Linked DNA regions of Homo sapiens: regions 2, 3, 4 and 5 are each linked to region 1. Evidence: promoter capture Hi-C in 16 types of primary human blood cells and fetal thymus (Javierre and others, 2016). All regions are on one chromosome and are shown on one strand. The core of a region is centred on a gene start or on the middle of the fragment in contact, and the rest is flanking DNA. Distances in the headings are between cores, read along the strand shown.

The links. Contacts are between HindIII fragments. The CHiCAGO score rates a contact against its expected background, and 5 or more counts as called.
Region 2: a contact is called between a fragment that was not itself captured here and the fragment with the promoter of SH3RF2 in region 1, in 2 of 17 cell types (M0 macrophages and M1 macrophages). The highest score is 15.9, in M0 macrophages.
Region 3: a contact is called between a fragment that was not itself captured here and the fragment with the promoter of SH3RF2 in region 1, in 3 of 17 cell types (M1 macrophages, naive B cells and M2 macrophages). The highest score is 9.5, in M1 macrophages.
Region 4: a fragment that was not itself captured here is called in contact with the fragment with the promoter of SH3RF2 in region 1 in 1 of 17 cell types (total B cells); the score reaches 5.7 in total B cells.
Region 5: a fragment that was not itself captured here is called in contact with the fragment with the promoter of SH3RF2 in region 1 in 2 of 17 cell types (naive B cells and total B cells); the score reaches 5.9 in naive B cells.

What each region holds. Positions count from the first base shown.
Region 1 is chr5:145,935,152-145,937,901 of GRCh38, reverse strand. It overlaps SH3RF2 (SH3 domain containing ring finger 2), which reads right to left and starts at 1,324. Exons shown (of 10, transcript NM_152550.4): 1 at 1,208-1,324; 2 at 1-79. It overlaps LOC107986458 (a long non-coding RNA gene), which reads left to right. Exons shown (of 4, transcript XR_001742913.2): 4 at 2,139-2,201. RefSeq lists an enhancer at 1,009-1,586. The HindIII fragment of the contact is 1,154 bases long and covers 698-1,851 here.
Region 2 is chr5:144,191,822-144,194,571 of GRCh38, reverse strand. All of the region lies in intron 2 of KCTD16 (potassium channel tetramerization domain containing 16), which reads right to left. Among named protein-coding and RNA genes, the nearest start is that of KCTD16, 22 kb to the right of the region's middle. The HindIII fragment of the contact is 5,543 bases long and covers 1-2,750 here.
Region 3 is chr5:144,213,113-144,215,862 of GRCh38, reverse strand. All of the region lies in intron 3 of KCTD16 (potassium channel tetramerization domain containing 16), which reads right to left. Among named protein-coding and RNA genes, the nearest start is that of KCTD16, 44 kb to the right of the region's middle. The HindIII fragment of the contact is 760 bases long and covers 1,020-1,779 here.
Region 4 is chr5:144,245,352-144,248,101 of GRCh38, reverse strand. The region is part of intron 3 of KCTD16 (potassium channel tetramerization domain containing 16); the gene reads right to left. Among named protein-coding and RNA genes, the nearest start is that of KCTD16, 76 kb to the right of the region's middle. The HindIII fragment of the contact is 1,116 bases long and covers 836-1,951 here.
Region 5 is chr5:144,264,636-144,267,385 of GRCh38, reverse strand. All of the region lies in intron 3 of KCTD16 (potassium channel tetramerization domain containing 16), which reads right to left. Among named protein-coding and RNA genes, the nearest start is that of KCTD16, 95 kb to the right of the region's middle. The HindIII fragment of the contact is 4,011 bases long and covers 1-2,750 here.

The DNA.
Region 1 (2,750 bases), core at 75-2,574:
GGAGGAGCAGCGTCCACATGGTAGGGTCAGTTGAGCCACGGGGGCAGAGCTGGTCTCTTGAGAACGTCAGAATTTTTGCCTGCTTGAAGGAGGGAGAGGAGAGAAAAAAAAATGTGACTGCTCCGAGAGGTATATCCCACCTACATTGAGGCAGTGTCTCATAAGGCAGTTTGCAAGTACTTTGTTCCGGCACCCAAGTTTCAAATGACTCATTCTGATTCAATGCTAGCAGGTATAAGACTCAACTCGTGCTTGCTGTGAGGATCAGAGGGAACATTCAGCACAAGACTGACTGCTTATTGCCTATGTGGACAGGAAAGCAGGGAGATAAACTGGCCTGCTGAAGTGGCCCCCCAACCCCTCTCTACCAGCCAGGGCGGGAAGAGGTCCTTTACCCCCTGCCCGGGGAAAGCTCCTGGACAGTCTCAATTCTTACAACAAAGCCCCCTCCGAACGCAATTTCTGTGAAGCTATCTCCTCCTCCTCCTTCCCCTAAATCTAAATGTATCTATTATCTGCACCACATGCAGATTAGTTTAGGTGGGTAAGTTTATCTGAATCTCATGCAGATGTAGAATTATTTCCTTCACAATATACCTTCCCACATGATTCTAGCAATGTACAAGAAAAATTTCCACTAGAAACCCATTTCCAAAAATTGTTTTGCCTTAACCACAGGTCAGGGTGCTTGGAAGCTTTGTTTCTTTTCTTTTTTCATCTTTTTTTTTTTTTCTCTCCTCATCCCGATTACCTTAGGCTCAGAGACAATGTTCCTCCCACAAGGTAAAGTAGTGCAGCCTGTTTAGTTACTTTGACATTGTTCTCAATTTCAAATGAAGCAGATAGGAATTCTGGATTGTGGTCACGACCTGTAAAAACCGTACTGGGGCAGCATATACAGGTAGGGGTCGTGTGTGTGTGTACTCTGAAAACAGTACTTGTTCCAGAAACAAGTTTCCTTTTGGATGTATGAAAAGAAGCCTCCAGTTTAGAAAAGTCTGGAAGAAGTCAGCTGTCCCTCACAAGTGCCAGGGCTTCGGTAAGCACCGAGCCCAGAGGTTTGGCGAGAAGGCCAGTGGCCCCACTAGCGACTAGTAAGCAGGACAGACACGACCGAGAATGAGCGATGGCGCCTCGCCTTCCTAAGCCTCCTCTCCAAAGATGTCAGCGCGGCAGCGGGCTGGGGAGGCGTGTGGGGGCCACTAACCTTGTGCATGTAACTTCTGCTGAGTTCAGCTCAGCCCCCTCCTCCGCGCAGCAGGGGTGCGCTGCGCCCTCCAACCGGCTTCCTTTCCTCCAAGCGCCGCTGCTGCCAACCGCTTTGAAAACTTTAACCACTCAGTCTTACTCATTTCAAGGGATCGCCTTACCCAGCCCTGTTAACGCTTTCACTGCCAGGGCGCTGCCTACTTACCACGCTTTTGTTGTTGCAGTTGTTAACTTTATGATCTTTCCTTCAGTTTACTGAATTGCTTCTGGGAAAAGATTGTAAGAGGTAAAATATAAGCCAGTCCCTAAGGCCAAGTATTTACAAAGTTCATATTTTCACCTTTCCCGTTTTCTGTAGTATCCAAGGAGTCAGAACCTGCTCCATTATAAACATACCAAAGTGATTGTGTTTATTTTAAATCTTCATAAGGATTTCCTGGGAAGGTCAAAAGTAAAAATGGTCAAGCTATGAAAACAAGGATAAGTCGGACACCTAGAAAATATTGCTCTTTGAAAATCATAGTCAATCTCTGAATTTAGAGATAAGAGGGACTTTAGTGATCTTTTTGCTCAATCTGTTTAAATTAAAAAACTAGTGTCACGTATATACACATACGTGAAAAATCAAAGCACAGAGAAGCTTTTTCAAAAAAGGAAAAGCAGTGGCCTCCAAGCTCTCCTCCTGCCTGTTATCCACTGTAGTCTTTTCATATCCTCAGATTATGCCTATATTTCTATTTTTTGATTTATCGATAATACATTTCATGTAAAATTACAAAGGTATCCGATTAAGTGAATAATAACAATCTTAATGCCAGGGTAGTCCTTATCTGTGTCAACCACTGTTCTAAATACCTTACCTGTGTTAGCCCTTTAACCCCTTAACAACCCAAGGAGACACTAAACTATTCTTTACTTTCATCTTGCAGATGAGGGAACTTGAGACACAGAGAGGATAAATAACTCATCTCGGGAGTCACAGCTAGCAGAAGGCAAGTGGGCTGTGCTCTTAACAATGTCATGGAGTGATATAACTTTAAGAGGCTGGCCAGGCGCAGTGGCTCATGCCTGTAATCCCAACACTTTGGGAGGCCGACGTGGGCAGATCACAAGGTCAGGAGATCAAGACCATCCTGACCAACATGGTGAAACCTCATTTCTACTAAAAATACAAAAATTAGCTGGGCATGGTGGTGCGCACCTGAAGTCCCAGCTACTCAGGAGGCTGAGGCAGGAGAATCGCTTGAACCTGGGAGGCGGAGGCTGGAGTGAGCTGAGATCGTGCCACTGCACTCCAGCCAGGGCGACAAAAAAAAAAAAAAAAAAAAAGAGGTGAAGAGGTGGTTCAAGGGAGCTAAGCCTCCCCTAAGAGGGCAAGAGGTCAAAAGATAATGGACAAAACTGGCTACTCACTTTCTCTTACAGATGAGGCAGCTGTGCCCAGAAAGATCAAGGGATTCTTTGAAGTTGTCCAGTGAGTTAGGGGCAGAATTGGGACTAGAAACTAGGTGTTTGAGGCCAGGCGCGGTGACTCATGCCTG
Region 2 (2,750 bases), core at 98-2,597, 1.7 Mb after region 1:
CACATTGCTTCGTGTCTTTTTAAAAATGAATTCTCTCCTTCCCCAAACTGTTCTAATTATTAGCTCCACAAGAGCTCAGGGTAGAGCCACATCACTAACATTGACCAATCCTTACTCTGGACCCCTTACAGATGTGAAGGGAAGGAAACAGAGCAATCATATAAATCTCCCTTGAGGATGCAGAGCCTCCTACTGAGAGGTGGTTTGGATAAGTCAAAGAGCACCATACGGCAGTGTTGTAATGTTTCCCGCATGGATAACACATTTTCTACTTGACAAGTTATCAGTGTCACCATCTCTGGCCCCATAAGCTCCAGAGCTTGTTCCTCATTTGTTAGATGTCACTTGTCCCAGCATGGTGCTTTATATACAAGGATATCTGAGTGAAAGTCTGCACATTTTTAATGTTCTCTTCTTTCTTCCTAAATATTCCCCCTTGTTGACTAATTCAGTCTCGGTGAACCATCTTCACTGTATGCAAATGACTGTAACACCTAAATGCTTGGCCTTGCTTTCTTCTCAACTTCCATACACCTGCTGGGCATTTTTACAGAGATCTACCAGCACCTTACACTCGAGTCCTAAGCTAAATATCTGTTTTCCACTCTCATCTTTTTCATTTCTCCAAGTTCTCCTTCTGTGTTAAGAGCATCACAGGTTTCTCAGTCCAAGTGAAAATCCATCATCTGATCCCTCCCTTTCCATTGGCACCCAACACTCAATAATTAAGTCTACCCACTTTCTCTACTATACTTCTTTCAGATATCTCTTCTCTTCGCTTCCATTTGTCGTACCTTTGTTCTTTGCCTTTTACCCAAATTTGACTAAGAAATAATTATGGAGCCATGAGCCAGGCACAACACTAAGCTATAAGCTCTATGTGTTGGGGATCCAGAAATGAATAAAGTAGACCAGCTCTTTGCCATCATGGAACTTCCATTATAGGCCAGACACACAGATCATAAACAAATAAACAAATAAATGAGCAAGATCATTTCATATAGTGAAATGAGCTATGAATAAAATAGAATAGGTAATATTTAAAAAATCTTGTTTGGGGCAAGGAGAAGAGGATTGATACTGCAGGCTGAGACTCTGGGGAGGGGAGCCAGCTATGTGAAATGCTGGGAACAGTGTGCTCTAGGCAGGTGGAATGGAAACAGCAAAGGCTCAGCTGTCTGAGGTGAAACTAAGCTCGGCTTGTTCAAGGAACCAAGAAAGCCAGCAAGTTGGATCCCAATGAGCAAGGGTGAGAGTGCAGGTCTGAGAAGTAGGCAGGGACCAAACCACAGATTTCATTCTATGTGTTATGGGAAGTCATTGGGAATTTAAAGTTAGAAGTGACATGTTCTGGTTTGCTTACTTTTTAAAAGGTGACTTTGGCTGATATGGGGATAACAGATTGTCAGGGAAACAAAATTAGTTGTAGGGAGATCAGTGGGGAGAATTTACAGGGATTTAGTGATATATGATGATGTCTCAGACCAGAGTGAAGTAGAATACATGAGGAAAAGCTAGCAAGGATTTTGGGGGTACAGGTGGTGGTATTTCTATATGGACCTGTTAATGTTCTTCCTCCTTTCAAGTTTTTACATCTCAGTTCATTTGACACAAAGCTAACAGTGTCCTCTTTCTAAAGATGCCATTATTTGCCCAGATATCTTAATTGGCTCACCACTGCTCATAGAATAAACTCCAAAGTCCTTGGTGTATATTCAAAGCTCTCTGCTATCTGGCCTCACCTTCTTTAGAGTTCCATACAAATGGGCTGATAAGGAAAGGGAAAAAAATGGTTACAGAGACATTCAAAAGTTCTGAGATAAATCATTTCAAAAATAGTGATATTCATAGAAAGTGGTGCTGGTTTTTGATATGTGAAGGACCAGCATTCACAGCTCTTCAACTGCTCTTAAAATCTGAAAGGTTCTGTCATAAATGAAAAAGCCACAGTGCCTCAACCAGTGGCTTGCTTTAACTTCCAAGGGAAGAAATAGGAAAGCTCTAGGAACTAGAAGAAATCATGTAACCCCTTAGAACACAAATAAATAGATGAATTAATTGATTTTGTTACAATCCTTCGCTTTATTCGTTCCCTGGTCTAAAATCTCCCATTATAATGCAATTAAGTGAAACCTCATGACAAAATGTAATGATTAAGCAAACTATAAAAAGGCAGAACTTGATAGAATGAAATCGTGTATCACATTGAACATATGATTTCCTTTCTCTTCTGCCTTAAGTAAGCATTTCTTAGAAATCAAAAATTCATGTCAAGATCATCAAAGCCGACTTGAGACGTCATCAGGATTAACAATCTAGAGTAACAGAAGGGGGCAGTGTTATCACAGTCTCTTGCATCAACCTGAAACCTTGAAGAAGAGAAACTGAAAGTCACCCTGAGTAACACTGTTCACTTACCCAGCATCCTCAACTGAGTCCCAATTTCAATTACTAATTTCTTTCCACTTGTGAAGTCTTAAGCTCCCAAAGTCAGCAATGAGATGCCCCCTTTGGTCCACCAACTTGACATACCCTGCCAAGCCCTATAAGAAACTGATCCCTTCTCACTGTAGCCTCAAGAAATGCAAGCCTGTCTCTACATTTACCTTCATTATTAATTATTCTGCCTTTTACAGCATGAATGGTGAAAGAAATTCACTTGTATTGACCATATAAGAAAAATACTTTATATTTAACATGTTATCAGAAAAGGCCTAAAGTTTATTTGTACTGCTGAAAAAAAAAAAAAT
Region 3 (2,750 bases), core at 150-2,649, 1.7 Mb after region 1:
TTTTAACCTGTTTTAACATCAATAAACTGGGAAAAGTTTTCAAAAGGACTATTAGAAAGAATCATATATGTTATTTAAAGGAAGCACTTATGTCTTATCCATGCCAGTATTCCCAGAGGTCCTCATATTTACTAAGGCTTCTATTGCACTGACTGGGTGTCTGGCACTGTTTTAAGCACTTTCTATATATCAACCCATTTAATTATCATAACAACTCTATGTGGCAAGTACTATTGTTATCCTTTCCATTTTACAGTTGAGGAAACTGAGGCACGGAAGCAATTTGCTAATGATCATGTATCTGGTGGTAGCAAAGTTGAGATTCAACCTCAAGCTGCCTGGGCACCAAAATCCAGGCTCTTAACCACTATGTTATGCTGCCTCTGGCATTAAGAAATGATAATTAACATTTATGGGAAGAGAAGAGGAAATGGAATACTTTGGCAGTAAGAAAATTAAGAAGGCAACCTTGTCGGTCTCACAGTACAGTTGCCTTCTAGTAGAGCTCTTTTTCTATTGGGGATATTTATCAATTTTGCAGCACTTTTCTGAATCCTGGGTTGCTCCTTAAACCCTGGTCACATCCAGCTTCAATTTACTCCTGCTTGGATGAACCAACTAAAAGGAGACCACAGGAGTCTTTGCTGCTGGTAAGTGTTTTTCTCAGTTCCCTAGAGCTAGAATCTTTGCGCAGGTGCGAAGAGTAGAGCACCTTTCAGTGAGAAATCCAACTAGTATGTAAAATGCTTAGCACTCAGTGAAAGTTAGAAAATAACATTATTATTATTATTTAAAGCATCAATCAAACCATCACTGCCCTCCAGTTCTTCTATTAAGAGACAATACAATAGTATATTCAAGACAGTAGCATCTATGACCAAAACAGAATATTGCAGTAAGAACTTTTAAAAATGCATTCTAAAGAAATATTTATAAAGTACTATACCTACATTTGTTCCAGGCACTGAATCAGGTACAATAATGAAGATGACAGATATAGCTTCTGGCTTCACAAAGCTTACAGTTGGAAAGACAGGTAAATAACCAAGTAGAATACATTATTATATGTGCTGTGATATAGAAAAATAGGATCTTAAGAGGCAAAGATAAGGGGTACCTAATCCAGGTATGGTGGACTAGGAAAGTCTTCCCAGAAGAAGTAACTTCTGGATTGGGAAACTGAACATTTAGCTAACCAAAGCAGATGGAGGCAGAGTTCCAGGCAGAGGGAACATCACTCACAAAAAATGAACATGCAAGTACACAAAAGTATCCAAGAACTAAAAAAGATCTGTTATGGCTAAGGTTATAAATGCAAAGAGGGCAGAATGGCAACAGTAGAGGCTGAGGAGGGAAGCAGAAGCGATTTCACAAAAGGATGTGGTTCATGTTAAAGAGTTTGTATTTGAATACAAGAGCAGTTGTAAGACAATTATGAACTTTAAGCAAAGGAGTGACATGGTCAGTCACTCCTTAGAAATCTCATCATATTTGCAGCAAGGAGGATAGATCCAAAGGGGAAAATACTGGATGCGGGAGGGGGAGAACAATTTAAGCTCATTTGCAATAGTATAGAAAAGCAATAAAGGAATGCTCATGGCCTTTCCATCAGCGGAGATGGAAAGAAGAGGACGGACCTGAGGGAGATGAAGGAGAAGAACCAACAGGACTTGTTGGAGATTGGAGAAAGTGGGGAGAAGAAAGAATCAGGAATGTCACCTATGTTTTATTCCTCCTTGGGCAACTAAGTGACTAACAATGCCATTTAGAGAAGAAGCTTGGGAAACACAAATGGTTAAGTTCAGTGGAGTTTCAGCACAATTGAAAAAATACAAAGATACTCAAATGTAAAATCAGAATAGCCAGAAGGCAAACTTTTCTACCCAAAATGATTCTCATAGTCAACAGGGCCCACTGCACATCTTGGTAAGCTCAGCAGGCTACCACTGCAGCACCTGAATGGTAGCCTAATCTAATGACAAGAATGGAAGTGCAATACTAGACCTTGAATGACTGGAGAGAAAATAAGGGACCTCTTTGAATGCCTGCTTTGTCATCAGAATCAACTTGAACAATGGAGAGAATACACCCAATAGCTATTGATTCAGATGATAAATATGTAAAAGCTAACAATAAAAACATGCCCTTACCTTGCCTCCATAACATATAGCATTTCAATCCTCCAATGCAAATTGTAAAATGAACTTGCTGTCACCTGTGAAAACTTGTCAGAAATACTGAGTGAATTTGATTAGGCCTCTAAAATCTGGAGTCTAGATCTAACGAGCTTACCAAAAACATAAGGATTGAGGAGGGTGTGTTCATAATATCACGGAGATCATAGAGATGGATGAGCAAAACCCAGAATGCAAGATATTCAACATGACAACTTGATTTCATGAAACAAGTAAGTTGTAAAAAAGAGGAGAAAGAAAAAGAAAGAGAGAGAGAAAAAAAGAAAGAGAGAGAAAGAAAGAAAGAAAGAGAAAGAAGGGAAGGGAAGGGAAAAGAGAGAGAGAAAAGGGAATAGAGCAAGAGAAAGAAAGGGAGGAATTAAAAGAGATGTAAGATGGACATTTTACCACTTTGTTGCATATAAGTTATATGCAATATTTTTTAAATGATGAGAGAAAAGAAAATTAGCAAACAAATATAATATAATATGTAGATTTCATTTGCATCTTGATTCAAACCAACTTTTAAAACATTGTGAAGAAATCAGGAAACTTTAAACACTGACTAGATATTTG
Region 4 (2,750 bases), core at 144-2,643, 1.7 Mb after region 1:
ATTCCCCAAAATGGAAAGAAAGCTCCATAAGGGCAAGGTTATCTGTCTCAGTCATTGCCACATTCCCAGTGCTACATAAAAGAAGCTCAATAAATATTTATGACATAAATGAAGAATCTGAAATCACATGCCTCCTCCTAACGTCAGAGTCACTGAGCATGGAAAATAGCCCAGGACCTGCTCATCAGGTGTTGCTTGCAGGGAAGAACAGTGGACAGACAAGATGGTGGGAAAATTAGAGAAGTAGGAGGAAGTCCTGAGAGAGAAGACACCGTTGGACACCCATTGAAAACAATGACTTAGAGGGAAAATTAAGAAATAGTCTACAACATCTTCTAGGCTTTAAGTGTGTTCATAATCAGCAGTATTGGTTGGTTTACTTTTCTGGTAATGTATTACATAAAAATTACCCTGTAAAGTAGGTAATAATAATAATCATGATCATGGTATTAATTACTATAATTTATTGAAAACTGTTCCAGTTGCTACCAACACTTACCTACCCCACAACCAGCTTCAAACAACTATTTTATCATATTCACAGATTTTATGGGCCAGAAATTCAGACAGCACAGTGGGAATAGTTTATCTGTGCTCCCATGTTTGGAGCCACAGCTGGAAAGACTTGATTGCTGGGAACTAAAATCATCTATAGGTCTCTCCCCTCACACAACTGGCAGCTAATGCAGGCTGGTGGCTGGGATCTCAACAGAAGCTGTTGACAGAGCCTCCCAGTAGTCTCTCTGTGTGCCTGAGTTGCCTCAGGGTGATCAGATTTCTTACATGACAGCTCAGGGCCCCCAGAGGAAGTGTTTCAGTAAACAAAGCAGAAGCTTCAATGTCTTTCATTACCCAGTCTTGGAAGTCATAGTCATCATTTCCATCATACTCTGTGGTCAAAGCAGTCACAAGTCACAGAGAAGAAATAATCCCTATCTTTGAATATTAGGGTAGCTGGTCATGTAAAAGAGTGTATGGGATGGGAGCTATTGCAACCACCATCATTGAAAAACATAATCCCACAGAAACTAGAATAAGTGCTTTACCTAATAAACTAAGTTAATTCTCACAATACCCCTGAGAAATGCCATTATCTTGAATTTACAGTAAAAGGAACATGAACTGCAAAAGGCTAAATGATTTGCTCAAGATCACACTGTTGACAGGTGTTGCTGAGAGCCAAACCAATGTATAACTGACTCCAAAGTTCATGCTCTCCCTGATACATCTTCTCCATGGCTAGAGGAGGCAAGAAAGAACATGATGTGGGAGTTGGAGGAATGACACAGAAATCAGAGGGCCTGAAAAGGGGAGACGATGATGACAAGGACGATGACAATGATGAAGAAGAAGGAGGAGGAGGAGAAGGAGATCAATAAAGGCTTGATTTTAATGATTATGGTACCTTGTCAATGTTGGCACCTTGTCAATGATGGTACCTTGTCAATGTTAAATTATCATTTGGTGATTTGTTGTGTTTTACTTGAGGTGATATGGAGATAGGGTACACAATACCCTATATCCAGTTTCTCCTAAGTTAACACACAACAAGTATTTAAAACTTTAATTTAAAAATTACATGCCATAAAAGTTCTATATTAATTATTTTATTCTATTAGATTTTAAACAGAATGAAACAAGATATTCTATTGTTTGGATATTCCCAATATTTTGTCCCCTAAATAAATGTTTATCAGATGTAACTCAAAGCCAGATTTCCCTTATTTGTATCCTAATGGCTTCTGCAAAATAGCCACCATTTATTGAGCAAATGGACATAGCCTGATAATTTTTTAATGTTACCTGGAATTATATTCAGTGCTTTTTTGATAATGCACTCCCAAACAAAAACTTACAAGCCCCACTCTGGATTGAAGAGTTCACATTAAATTACTCTTCCCTATAAACATAATGATAGAAAAGTGGAGACTCAGCTGACTAATATGAAGCTTGATGAAGACCAACTCTCTGCCCAAACATCAGCTGATCTCTGTGATGCAGCATCCTTACTCATAACATCATTGCCCTGTACACCTCAAGAGTGCTCACTGACTGTCCTTAGGATAAAGACCACAATTCTTACCATAGCCCAAAAAGCCCTGTAGTGTCTGAATCTCAATGCCATCTTGTGTCCCCATGTTAGTCCATTCTTACATTGCTATAAAGAGATAGCTGAGACTGGGTAATTTATAAAGAAAAAAGGTTTAATTGGCCCATGGTTCTGCAGGCTTCATAGGAAGCATGGCAGCATTTGCTTCTGGGGAGGCCTCAGGGAATTTACAGTCATGGCAGAAGGTGAAGGGGGAGCCAGCACTTCACGTGGCCAAAGCAGGATGAAGAGAGAGGAGGGGGAAGTACTACACACTTTTAAACAACCAGATGTCATGAGAACTCACTATTGCAACAACCGCTCCAAGGGGGATGATGTTAAACCATGAGAAACAGCCTCCATGATCCAATCACCTCCCACCAGACCTGACCTCCAAGATTGGGGATTACAGTTGAACATGAGATTTGGATGGGGACACAGATCCAAACCACATCAGCCCCACTTCCTCTTTGTCCTCTGCTTTCCTCCCATTCTGGACCCTTTTGAGTTCTTCAGACATGTCATTCTTCTTCCTCCCTCAAGACTTTTGCAGATTTTAGTCCTTTTGCCTGGAATACTCTTATTTCCTCCATGTGTCTTGTTAACTCCTATACTTAAAGTCGCACCGCAACCATAACTTCCTTGCGGATGTTTTCCTTGA
Region 5 (2,750 bases), core at 77-2,576, 1.7 Mb after region 1:
ATGTGCCTTCCATTTTTTTGACTGAATTAATCTTCAAAGTAACCTCCCTAGGTTTGAACAATCATTATCCACAGTTAATAAGCAAGGAAACTGAGGTACAGAAAGTTAAGGAAGGTGCTCAATGTCACACAGTTCATATACGGTGGGGCATAGGTTCAAACCAGGCCATCTGACACAGATCTCACTCTTGTACCACTTAGCCAATCTTATTCATCTTCTGTAAGGAACCATCATCTTTGGCAAATACTTAGGATCTATCCTTGAGAATGGTGATAGAGTTTTATAAATCATCCAACATTTTTCTGCTGATTTCACCTCATGACCAGAAGATTTAATTTTATAATTACTGCATGCAAGGTATGTGTGTCAAGGAAAAAAATATATATAAACCAGTGAATTAGTTAGCAAAAATCGCAATTACTTTTGCACCAACCGAATAAGAGGCTTTGGCCAAAATTCATGCTTCAGGACCAGATGAACTAAAATATCTGTATCATAGGACAGAAAAAAATAGGTCAGCAAAGAGGTAAAATAAAGGTCTGCTTCAATGAATTTTTTCCCAGAGATGAGCACAGTATCCAACTGCTGGCTATAAAAAAAAAATAGAAATCTTGTGTGATTAGCTGGGTTCATATACTTTGTGCACATTGCCTATTAAGCATGACTCTGAAGCTGTAATTTTAAACACTAGGTGGGCAATTACAACAAACTCATTTGTGTTTTACAGATTTATCTCCAAGAAGGAAGAAAACATAACAAGGTTAGGGAAGGGTATTTGGTCAAAGCCTTGATGTGCTTCTATTTAGACATTTTTTAAATAAGCCCATTAGATTCTCAGGCTTTGAGGTCAATTGTGCAGTTCTTGATGAAACATTACCCAAGTGAATTATTTATAAAGTTGCAGGAAACTGCAAATTCTGGTGAACAAATCTTTTTGATGCTCTCATCTCCTGCAGCGTTGTTTTGGTGCTACCCTCTACTGCCTTCTTCAAATATTCTAGGCTCTCTTTGGCTACAGCTGTCCATTCACCTCAAAAGGCAGCCCAGCTCCTTTCCATACAGGTTGTGGAAAGGAGCTATCCAGTCAAGGTGTCTCTCTCAGTTTTTTATTTCCCCCAGGTGCCAGATTGAGAAAAGTTAGGCAGTGACAAAGGAGAATTGAAGACAATGTACTCATATACATATATGCATGCATGCATACATACTTACATATATTTGTTGTTTTTTAACCATAGCCTAAAAGTATTATTAATGTTGTCATTCATCAAAGGCTGTCCCCAACCTCTCAGAGGCAACACACTGGGAAAATCTGTTTTCGCAATTCCAGAAACACATCTGGATTCAATGTTTTTAAAAGTAATGTTAATATCCTCTGACCACATGAAAGAACCTGATTCTGAATGTAAACTATTGAGTTTTCCATTTTCATACATAATACCCTTTTTGAGGCCATATATAGGAGAAAAAAGCTGAAGCACTGATATTAGATATATCTAGCTTTGAATTCCTAATAGTATCCCTGTACGAACTTGGCACATTACGTAATATTTCTGAGCTTGTTTTCTCAATGAGACAATACAAATAGTAATAACCATAGATTAGAATTGCTGTCAGGACTAGAATTGGCATATTAAATGACAGTTTCAAATACATCTTGATTATCACACATGACATATATTTATGTTCCTAAATAGTAGCTTTTATGATGATGGTTCATTCATTCAACAATATTTAAGAGTGTTCTAAGAACCAAGCACAGTTTTGGGCATAGAAGATACAGCCAACTTCGTGAATTCCTAGTCTTCTTGGAGATTACAGTCTTTAAAATTGTTAGCATTTAGGTTGAATAAAGCCAGAGGCATGGGCAGGAGTTTGTTTCAAGATCCTGGGTTGTTTCCTTAACTTCAGTGTGTTTTCTGACAAAGTATTACAAGGAGATCGTATTATTCCAACAACTCTCATAATATAAAATCAATTGACGGTATAGTCATTCTCCTTATGAATAAAGAAATCCTTAGAGAGGGAGATGAAAATAAAAGTGTCAGTGGAAAAGCAGGATATTATACTGGCATGCAGCAGTTGTTATTTTTGCTGTTTGTTTTCACTGTTTTTAACTATCTTACCTGCTTGTGATTAAGGTAATAATATTAAACCATGCTAATGTCCTTCTGTTTTGGAAAAAAAAATGTAAATACACATTTCTGACACCTGTAAAGTTCTCATAAGTAGATAATTTTCTCCTTACAACTGTTGGATTGATAAGGTAATGGAACAATTTCCTTTTACGGAAAATTAGAACACAACTCAATTTGCTATAGTTTTATTCTTCTATAGTAGAGAGTTAAGATTGCTAACAGCTAGGAAGTATATGTCTCTGGCAAGAGTTTAAATGCCAAATTTCCCAAGGAAGATTTACTCATTTCTGTTGCACTTATCTCATTATAACTGATTGAAATTGTATGGAGTTTTTTTAGTAAACATGTGCCTTAAATTATGTGATTAGTGCTAAATATTACATGTATATGAGTTTTGACTAAATTAAACTTTTAAGTACACAAGGAAAAGTTTGAGACTTAAAGTCATCCTATTGTTAATCGTTTCTGTTTGTTTGTTTGAGACAGGGTCTCACTGTATCACCCAGGCTGGAGTGCAGTGGCACCATCACAGCTCACTGCTTCTTGACCTCCTAGGCTCAAGCAATCCTCCCATCTCAGCCTCCTGAATGGCTGGAATCACAGGCGGGCACCACC